2 separate regions of the Homo sapiens genome follow, and region 1 is linked to region 2. Evidence: promoter capture Hi-C in 16 types of primary human blood cells and fetal thymus (Javierre and others, 2016). All regions are on one chromosome and are shown on one strand. The core of a region is centred on a gene start or on the middle of the fragment in contact, and the rest is flanking DNA. Distances in the headings are between cores, read along the strand shown. Region 1 overlaps KDM4B (lysine demethylase 4B). Region 2 holds the start of PTPRS (protein tyrosine phosphatase receptor type S).

The links. Contacts are between HindIII fragments. The CHiCAGO score rates a contact against its expected background, and 5 or more counts as called.
Region 1: a fragment that was not itself captured here is called in contact with the fragment with the promoter of PTPRS in region 2 in 1 of 17 cell types (megakaryocytes); the score reaches 5.0 in megakaryocytes.

What each region holds. Positions count from the first base shown.
Region 1 is chr19:5,076,163-5,080,656 of GRCh38, reverse strand. It overlaps KDM4B (lysine demethylase 4B), which reads right to left. Exons shown (of 23, transcript NM_015015.3): 8 at 3,187-3,290. Among named protein-coding and RNA genes, the nearest start is that of PTPRS-AS1, 99 kb to the left of the region's middle. The HindIII fragment of the contact is 7,055 bases long and covers 1-4,494 here.
Region 2 is chr19:5,339,514-5,344,184 of GRCh38, reverse strand. It overlaps PTPRS (protein tyrosine phosphatase receptor type S), which reads left to right and starts at 3,373. Exons shown (of 38, transcript NM_002850.4): 1 at 3,373-3,521. RefSeq lists a silencer at 3,166-3,445. The HindIII fragment of the contact is 5,182 bases long and covers 1,243-4,671 here.

The sequences.
Region 1 (4,494 bases), core at 426-2,925, 260 kb after region 2:
TCCGTTTCCAAGAAAATGCCGAACGGTTTTCCATGGCCATGGCACCGCCCTGCATCCACCCCGGCTGGGAGCAGCGTGCAGCTGCGCCCTCCTCACTGGCATCTGGTGGCGGTGTTCTGACGTGGCCGTCCTGGGGCTGGCGGTGTCTCCCAGCTGGCTGCCTCTGACTTCTACCGATGCTGGGCACTGAACCATGGCTTTCGTTCCTGCAGCTCCTTCGTAACGCGTCTGCTCAAGCCCCTCACGCCGAATTCATCGGGCCATTTGTTTTCTTATCTCTGATTTGTAGGAGTTCTCAGGCCTGCTGATCATTATATATTCCCCCAGAAAGATGAGCAGAGATTGCTGGATACACTGAAGTCGCCAATAAGCCATCAGAACTGGTGAGGCTTTCAGAAGCCAGCCACGGCGTCAGACATCAATCAAAACTGACACAGCTTGGAAAAATGCCAGTCCTTAAGAACACTGTGATATTTTTCTTTTCAAATAATTAATTGCACCAATCAAGGGAAGTCAGTGTGCATTAAGTTATATTTTTAAATTCCCATTCAAGTGACAGCCACGTGCAGCAGAACGAGCACGCGGCAGAAAATAGGGGTGGGGGGGGAACACACGTGGCCCCAGGGCCTGGCCCCCGCCGTGCAGGACATGGGGTCCCCAAGGGCTGGCCCTCACTGTGCAGGACGTGGGGTTCTCTGGGCCAGCTTCTCCCCACTACGCTGGGAGCTCCGTGAAATGAGGGGCAAATAAAATTAAGGTTTGGGGCTTTTTAAAAAAAAACCTAATTACTGGGCCGGGCATGGTGCTCACACCTGTAATCCCAGCATTTTGGGAGGCCAAGACAAGAGAAACACTTATGCCCAGGAGCTTGAGACCAGCCTGGACAACAGAGTGAGACCCCATCTCTAGAAAAAAAGAAAAGTTAAGAAAGTAAAGTAAATGCCATTACTGATTCCTTTATCCTATTTGAGCCGGCTTCGGAAAGGCTTTTCCCTGACCACCTGCTCTAAGGCCAAGTGACGGCTCCCTGTCTCTCCCCTGGAGAACCAGGCCTGCAGGCATGCGTCAGGCAGACATCAGACTCAGAGCCTTCAGGGATCCAGCTGGGCCCCCGGAATGCCAAGATTGAATGGGGGTGATGGCAGCAGAGAGCCAAGCTCTCACAGTGTAAGGACCTCACTCCCCCAGCCCTCCTATGAACCAAGGCCTAGAAGAGAAAATGTGCTCGGTTAGGACAAGAAGATTATGTTCCTGCGAGAAAACCTGCATCCTGGTGGCTTCGTTCCACACTCACGGTGTCTGTCCCCTGTGTCACTGCTGTCAACATTATCCAACAATCAATTAGAAGGCGTTGGGATGATGAATAGGCTTTGCGGCAAAGTCATCAGTGGTGACAGGACGCGGCCCCAGACACCAGGCACGGAGAAAGCCCGGAACTCGGTTTCCTCTGCGAGCTCTTGCAGAATAAATGAGGGAGTCAATGGCAGATTACAGAAGTACACACTTTTAATTATTAAAAAGCTCTGCTATTGATCGGCTTTTTCTCCTAGAAGTAAATACCATTACAAAGATTTATAAGGGGAGTGTGGGGAGTCACTTGTTTGAAGGCTGCCAGGAATTCAGATGAGGGGACCCACGCTGCTGTCTGGAAGGGACGTTCATCTCAAGCCCATGGCGTCTGAGAGGCTGAAGGACGGTCCCCAGGCCGGGCGGCACAGGGTGCTGTTCGCTGCAGTGGGACAGGGGCCTTCACTGTGGCAGCCTCTGGAGAAACTGGCGCCCGGCCCCAGCAACCAGCTGGCGGTGTTGGGGAGCGCAGCCGTACTGCCTGGACCCCGCCTGCTACCATGCATGGTGCCAGCAGCCGCTCTGAGGCTGGTGGTGAGCCACCTTTGGCTCAGGTTCAGGAACTTTACAGATAAACTGCAGTGCGATACAGATGCTGACCTGGGAGTCCAGGCCACTCACTGCCTGCCCACCCCTTCGATGGGCACCCCCCTCCAGGAAGCACCACTTTGGAGAAGGTTTTAGACAAACCAGCCAGAAAATCAGTACTTCTCACTTCCCTGAGCAATGCCGTGATCTGTCTGGTTTTGCTGGTACTGAATGATGTTCCAACCAGAAGACGGGGGAGAAGAGGAAAGGCCGGAAATGCGCACTTCTCCGAGCGAGATCTGTGCTGTCTGATGAATGCCTGCAGCGGCTGGGAGGCGGCCTCTGGGTTGCAGCCCCGCCAGGAAGAGCGGATCCCCGATGTGTGAGCTGATGCTTTGGCGGTTTGATTGAAATGTCACAAGCAATTTCCGGCTGGCTGACACTCAGGGCCTCACCACAGAGCACGCTCCCGAGCCTGCACATCACTCTTCCCGTGGAACCTCATGAGCTGGGCTGCGGCCCAGACCTGCCTTGCAGGTTCTTGGCACGTGCCTCTCACCTGGACAGAGCTGGGGACACAGGCCTAGACTCTCCCATGGACAAAGGCTTCTCCATGGGGAAGGAACTGCCTCGAGTGGGTGCAGTTGCTGAGCTGGACCCTGAGCACAGCCTGCTCTGCTCCTGGGACACCAAACCCCAGCTGTCCATCAAATCAGGTGTAGGGAGGCCCCACCCCCCGGCCTCAGGTCTCCTCCATCACAGCCTCCACCAGCAGCCCCTGAAGCAGTGAACTGAATGAGTTCACAGTCTTCACGGTGCAGGAGAGCCCGAAATGTCACTTCTAAACAGGCAGTTCTCTCCACGGCCGGGTGACATGGGCCGTGGGGGTGCCTGAGACTTAGGGTGTGGCCTGGGGCGGTAGGAACCAGGTTCCCACCTTGCACGGGACGAGGGGCCCTGCCCTCTGTTTCTTTGGCAGCTTCCTGCCAGGTCAGCAGGGCCTGCCCCTGCCCTTCCACCCCTGCAGCCCCTGCGGAGGGGCCTCTGATGGCCACACCCAGGAGGAAGTTTTGGTTTGGTTTGGGAGGGGAGGTTAACACCCCGCCAGATTCAAGCTCTGCCATCTTCGCTTCCCCGTGGAAGAGCTGGAGGCTAACTGCTGAGCCATGCGGCCCTCCTCTGGCATGCTAATCACTGTTCTAGAAACTTCTCCAGGGTTAAACAGCTTATCTCCTGGGGTATGTGCGGCCACCTGGGCTTGGACCCGGTACCCACTTCACCCACAGGCGTGCAGGCCCCACCCGTACGCACCCGGCTGAAGGGGATCCCGTACTTCTTCAGGATGATGGGCGAGATGAGGGTCATCTTATGCCGCAGGAAGGCGTCGCAGCCCTGCGAGCTCCCGGGGAAGAAGCCTAGGGCCGAAAAGACAGACGTCAGTCTCCTGGGCCACAGCCGGCCGGGGTCAGCGAGGATGCTGCCCTCTGGGCAGGCTGGCTCTTTCCTCCCATGGAGAGCGGGCGTGTGGGAGCACAGAGCACGGCCCAGATCTGCCCTTGGTTCTCAGGGCCCCAGTGCCTGCAGGTCGGGGGGAAGGAGATGCGCAGGAGCCGCCCCATAGTGCCCTGCTGTGAGCTCTGCAGGTGGCAGACAGTGGTGACACCCTCTGGCCTCTGCGCAGTGACCATGTGAGCAGATGCCTGGTCTCGTCTCTGCCCAGCAGCAGGGGCAGCCAAGGGCCTCCTCACCAGGGGAAGGACCAGGGTTACTTGTGTGACAAGGTGCCCACCCATGGCATACACTTGGGTCCCTCACAGGGCACGGCTATGCAGAGACTTCTCCTCCGACCTCCCCAGACAAAATCCACCAGACCACAGCCCACACAGTCGCTCGGTCAATGAGAGAGCACGATCCTGGGGAGAGGACACGGTGTGGCCGCTCTCGTCACTCGGTCAACGAGACAACATGACCCTGGGGAAAGGACGCAGCGTGGCCGCTCTCGTCACTCGGTCAACGAGACAACACGACCCTGGGGAAAGGACACAGGGTGGCCGCCCTCGTCACTCGGTCAACGAGAGAGCACAACCCTGGGGAAAGGACGCAGTGTGGCCGCTCTCATCACTCATTCAACGAGAGAGCACGACCCTGGGGAAAGGATGCAGTGTGGCCGCTCTCGTCACTCGGTCAACGAGAGAGCACAACCCTGGGGAAAGGACGCAGTGTGGCCGCTCTCATCACTCGGTCAACGAGAGAGCACGACCCTGGGGAAAGGATGCAGTGTGGCCGCTCTCGTCACTCAGTCAACGAGAGAGCACGACCCTGGGGAAAGGACGCAGTGTGGCCGCTCTCGTCACTCAGTCAACGAGAGAGCACGACCCTGGGGAAAGGATGCAGTGTGGCCGCTCTCGTCACTCAGTCAACGAGAGAGCACGACCCTGGGGAAAGGATGCAGTGTGGCCGCTCTCGTCACTCAGTCAACGAGAGAGCACGACCCTGGGGAAAGGATGCAGTGTGGCCGCTCTCGTCACTCGGTCAACGAGAGAGCACGACCCTGGGGAAAGGACGCAGTGTGGCCGCTCTCGTCACTCGGTCAACGAGAGAGCACGACCCTGGGGAAAG
Region 2 (4,671 bases), core at 2,124-4,623:
GGCTAGTCCCAAATACCTGGGCTCAAGCCATCCTCCCGCCTCAGCCTCCTAAAGTGCTGGGCCAAAGTGCCTGGCCAACTCCAGGGATTTTAAAGACTGTTTTGTTTACTTCTGTTGTCCACAGCACTTCAAACAACCTGGGAGCGGGGCCGGATGCATGGCCTGAACAGATGGGTTTCCCAAGCACATGCTGGAATGTATTTTTTTTTTTTTTTGAGACAAAGTCTCACTCTGTTGCCAGGCTGGAGTGCAGTGGCGCTCAGCTCACTTACAACATCTGCCTCCCGGGTAGAAGCGATTCTCCTGCCTTCTGAGTAACTGGGACTACAGGCACGCGCCACCACGCCCAGCTAATTTCTGTATTTTTAGTAGAGATGGGGTTTCACCATGTTAGCCAGGCTGGTCTCAAACTCCTGAGCTCAGGCAATCCACCTGCCTTGGCTTCCCAAAGTGCTGGGATTACAGGCGTGAGCCACCGCACCTGGCCAACGTATTTTTTGTTTGAGAGGGAGTCTCACTCTGTTGCCCAGCTGGAGTGCAGTGGTGTGATCTCAGCTCACTGCAACCTCTGCCTCCCAGGTTCAAGCAATTCTCCTGCCTCAGCCTCATGAGTAGCTGGGACTACAGGCATGCACCATCACACCTGGCTAATTTTTGTATTTTTAGCAGAGACAGGGTTTTGCCATGTTGGCCAGGCTGGTCTCGAACTCCTGACCTCAGGTGATCCACCCGCCCTGGCCTCTCAAAGTGCTGGGATTACTGGCATGAGCCACCGCGCCCAGCTGCTACAATGTATTTTAATTCTGTTTTTGATGTATTTAATCTGTTTTCTTTGACTGCTCACAAAATCCCTCAGAGGTACTAGTGGTTGTCCCCCTTTTCTAGATGGGGACAGCTAGGCTTACAGTGTTGCGGCCACTTGTTTGAGGTCACCTCCCAAACAGGTCACTGGGCTGGGGTTCGTGCCATGATCAGCCCCTCCACGATCAGCCATCTCATTTTACTGTGTCTCCACCAATTCTCCAAGGCTTCAGCACCCACTGTGCGTGAGAAACCACGCTAAGCATTTGTGCACAGACCACCCCATTTGATCCTTCAAGATGGGATCGTGTTCCCATTGCTTGGATGAGAAAACTGAGGCCAGATTGTAAACGGTCAGATCAGGGTCACCCCACCAGGAAGAAAAACAAAGTAGGCTCTGCAAACGTGGCTGCTGCACTGGCCGCTGGGAAACTCCAAGCTTAAATTAGGTTCCTTGTTAAATTATTCATTATCTCCTCTCTTTTCTCCTGTTTATGACTTCCGCCTTATCGTTTTGTTCCCCGGGTTAATGCTTTTTGTTTATCTGCATCTGTGGCCTGGAATGAATGAATCAACAATTTTGGAGGAAAAAAAAAACCAATTCTAAAGTTGAGTTCCTCTGTTGGGCACCAGGCCTTCTCCAAATATGTGCCTTGAGGAAATAAATGCTTTCGACATGATCAAAACACAAGGACTGATGTGCAATCTTGCTTGGTGGCTGTGAGCCCTCCAACCCCCTTACCTTTGTCAATATCCCCCTTTTATTTACTTCCGCTCTGTTTTTTTTCCTTATTTTTGAGAGTCTCACTCTGTCGCCCAGGCTAGAGTGTGCAGTGGTGTGATATTGGTTCACTGCAACCTCCGCCTCCCGGGTTCAAGAGTTTCTCCTGCCTCAGCCTCCCAACTAGCTGAGACTACAGGCACCTGCCACCACGCTCGGCTAATTTTTGTATTTTTAGTAGAGATGGGGTTTCGCCATGTCGGCCAGCCTGGTCTCGAACTCCTGACAAGTGATCTGCCCACCTTGGCTTCCCAAAGTGCTGGGATTACAGGCATGAGTCACCGGGCCCGGCCTCTTTTCTCTTATTATTCCATCTTCAGGCACCAATGGCAGCCAGGCTGCCACATTATAGCAATTCATCATCACACCCTCCTTAGGAGCAGGGGCTACCTTGCCCCATTTTACAGATGAGAGCTGAGATCCAGAGGCAAATCCATTCTACAGATGGGGAAAGTGAGGCTCCGGGCCTCACACAGCAAATCAGTGTTTTAGCTGGGTTCCAACTGTGGCTCGTCCTGACTCCAGGGAAGCAGGGGATGGTAATTAGGTGAGACCTGTGTAAAGTGCTTACTCTATAAGAAGTGCTCCATCATCCATTCATTCATGTGTTCAACCTACAATAGGGATCTCTGGAGCCACACTGTAGTGTAACTAGAATAAAAACGGGATAATGGGACCAGGCGCGGTGGCTCACGCCTGTAATCCCAGCACTTTGGGAGGCCGAGGTGGACGGATCACTGAGGTCAGGAGTTCAAGACCAGCCTGGCCAACATGGTGAAACACTGTCTCTAACAAAAATACAAAAATTAGCCAGGCGTGGTGACAGCACGCCTGTAATTCCAGCTACTCCGGAGGCTGAGACAGGAGAATAGCTTGAATCCAGGAGGCGGAGGTTACAGTGAGCCGCGATCACGCCACTGCATTCCAGCCTGGGCGACAGAGTGAGACTCCGACTCAAAACCAAACAAACAACAACAACAACAACAAACCGGGATAATGGGATAGAGTGGAGTGGGGCGTGGCTGGTAGCTGTTGTCAGGGAGGGCTTCTCCCAGGCGCTGCTTATTTGAGCAGAAATTGGAAAGATGAGAAGGGGAAGTTCTTGGATGCTCAAGTTAGAGGAACTGTAAGAAGCTGGCTGAGGCGGGAGGATCACCCGAGCCCAACTACTCAGGAGGCTGAGGCGGGAGGATCACCTGAGCCCAGGAGTTTGAAGCTGCAGTGAGCTATGATCATACCACTGTACTGAGGCCCAGGTGGCAGACCCCATCTCTGAAAAAGCAAAGAAGGAGCAGCTGGTTTTTCTGGATCATTGACATGGTGGGGGGGAGGGGACAGGGTAGTGGGCGCTAATGTGAAACGGCGAGCTGCAGAGAGGAGGCGGGATTTTATTCCAAGGGTACTGGGGAGCCGTGGCACAGTTTAGGGCAGCGCACAGAAAGTGCCATGCCCTTTGCACCCAGGACGCTGGGGCTCCCGCACGGACAGTAGCCCCAGGGGCCCTTCCCGCCGCCGCCGCAGCCGCCACCACCACCACCACCCCAGCCGCCCACGTGTCCCGCGAAGCCCCGCGCCCCACGTGCTCCCGCGGCCCTTTAAACACCCCGGAGCCACGTGACCGCGCTGCGCCGTCCCATTGGCCGGGGGGCGTGGCGGCCGCGCGGCTGCGCAGTGACGCGCACGGGCCGGCCCTGCCCCCGACCCGGCGGCGGCGGCGGCGGCGCTGGCGGAAGGGATGACGTCACCGGCTGGGGGGGCGCGCGAGCGGGAGCTAGGGGAGCGCGAGCCGCAGTGAGTGTCCTCGCGCCGCCCGCCCGGCAGCCCGGCCGGCGCGCGCACGCCGCGAGCCGCTGGCGCTCGGGCTCCGCTCGGATCCCATGCAACAGCCACGATGTGAAGCGGGGCAGAGCCGGGGGAGCCCAGCCCAGCCAGCCTCCAGGTAAAGCCAAAAAAAAAAATAAAATCATGGATTAGAGGAAAAAAAAATGCAGGCGCTCCAAGGGGGGTCTCGGAGGCAGCCGAGTGGGCAGCGCGCCGGCTTTGTGCCGGGGAAGCCTGCACGGCCATTGTGCTCGGAGGATGCTCGGCTGCAGCCAGTTGCACGCCCAGCCGCTGCGCCCCGGTAGCTGCGCCCGGACAATGCCCCGAGGGACAGGGCCGGGGCCGCGCTGGGGGCGCTCGGCAGGGGGTGCTGGGGGGGCTTCGTCCGCGGCGTGGGAGGGGGCTGGGCTGGAAGCGCCCAGAGCGCGGCATTGGAAGCTGCCCAGCGCCGCCGGCTGCACCACCCCGGGCTGCGGGCGGGGCAGAGGCGCGGAGGGGGGCGCGCGTGTGTGCGGAGCCGGTGCCGGCCCCGGCGGCGCCCGGCCCGGGTCCCCGGGCGGGTCCTGGAGGCAGGGGGCGCTGTGCCGGGGGATGGGGGGCATGCGGGCGCCCCGGAGCGGAGAGGAGCCGGGACGGGTGGCTCCAGGCGGGGTGGCTCCAGGGCTGCTGCGCCCGCCGCCTTCCCTCTCCGGGTCTCCCTCCCCTGGAGACCCCCTAGTCTACGCCGTCTCCCCTGGAACACTCCGGGCCCTGTCGTTGCCTTATGGGAGGTCGCCCCTCCGGCACTCGGGCATTGCCCCACCCTTCTGCGGCCTCGGCGCCCCCTTCCAGCCTCCCCACCCAGGGGCGAGCCTCAGCCCCCAGCCCCAGGGGCTCTGGCAGGCAGACGCGCACGCCCAGCACCCCAGTCTCCCCTCCGCGCTGGGGGCCCCGTGGGGATCCCGAGAGTGGGGAAGCCGCCCCTGGAACCGCCAGCCCCGCGGGTTCCGCACGCCCCGGGAGCCCCCGGGGGCTGCGGGGGGAGGGGAGGTGACGTCATACCGGGGGCGGGGCCGTCGGCACTGGGTTAAAGGGGGCGCGGGGCGTGCCCTGAGGGGAGCCCCCCAGGTTAGAGTGCCCGCGCCGTGGGTGCGAGGGTTCGGCCAGGTTGCGGCCAAGTTCACCTCTCTTTATGGGAATCTCTCCTAAAATTAAGATCCTCCCCTTCGGACCTCCCCCTACAAATCCTGGACATTTCCCACCAATTCCCCCCCTTCCCAAATTGGGGA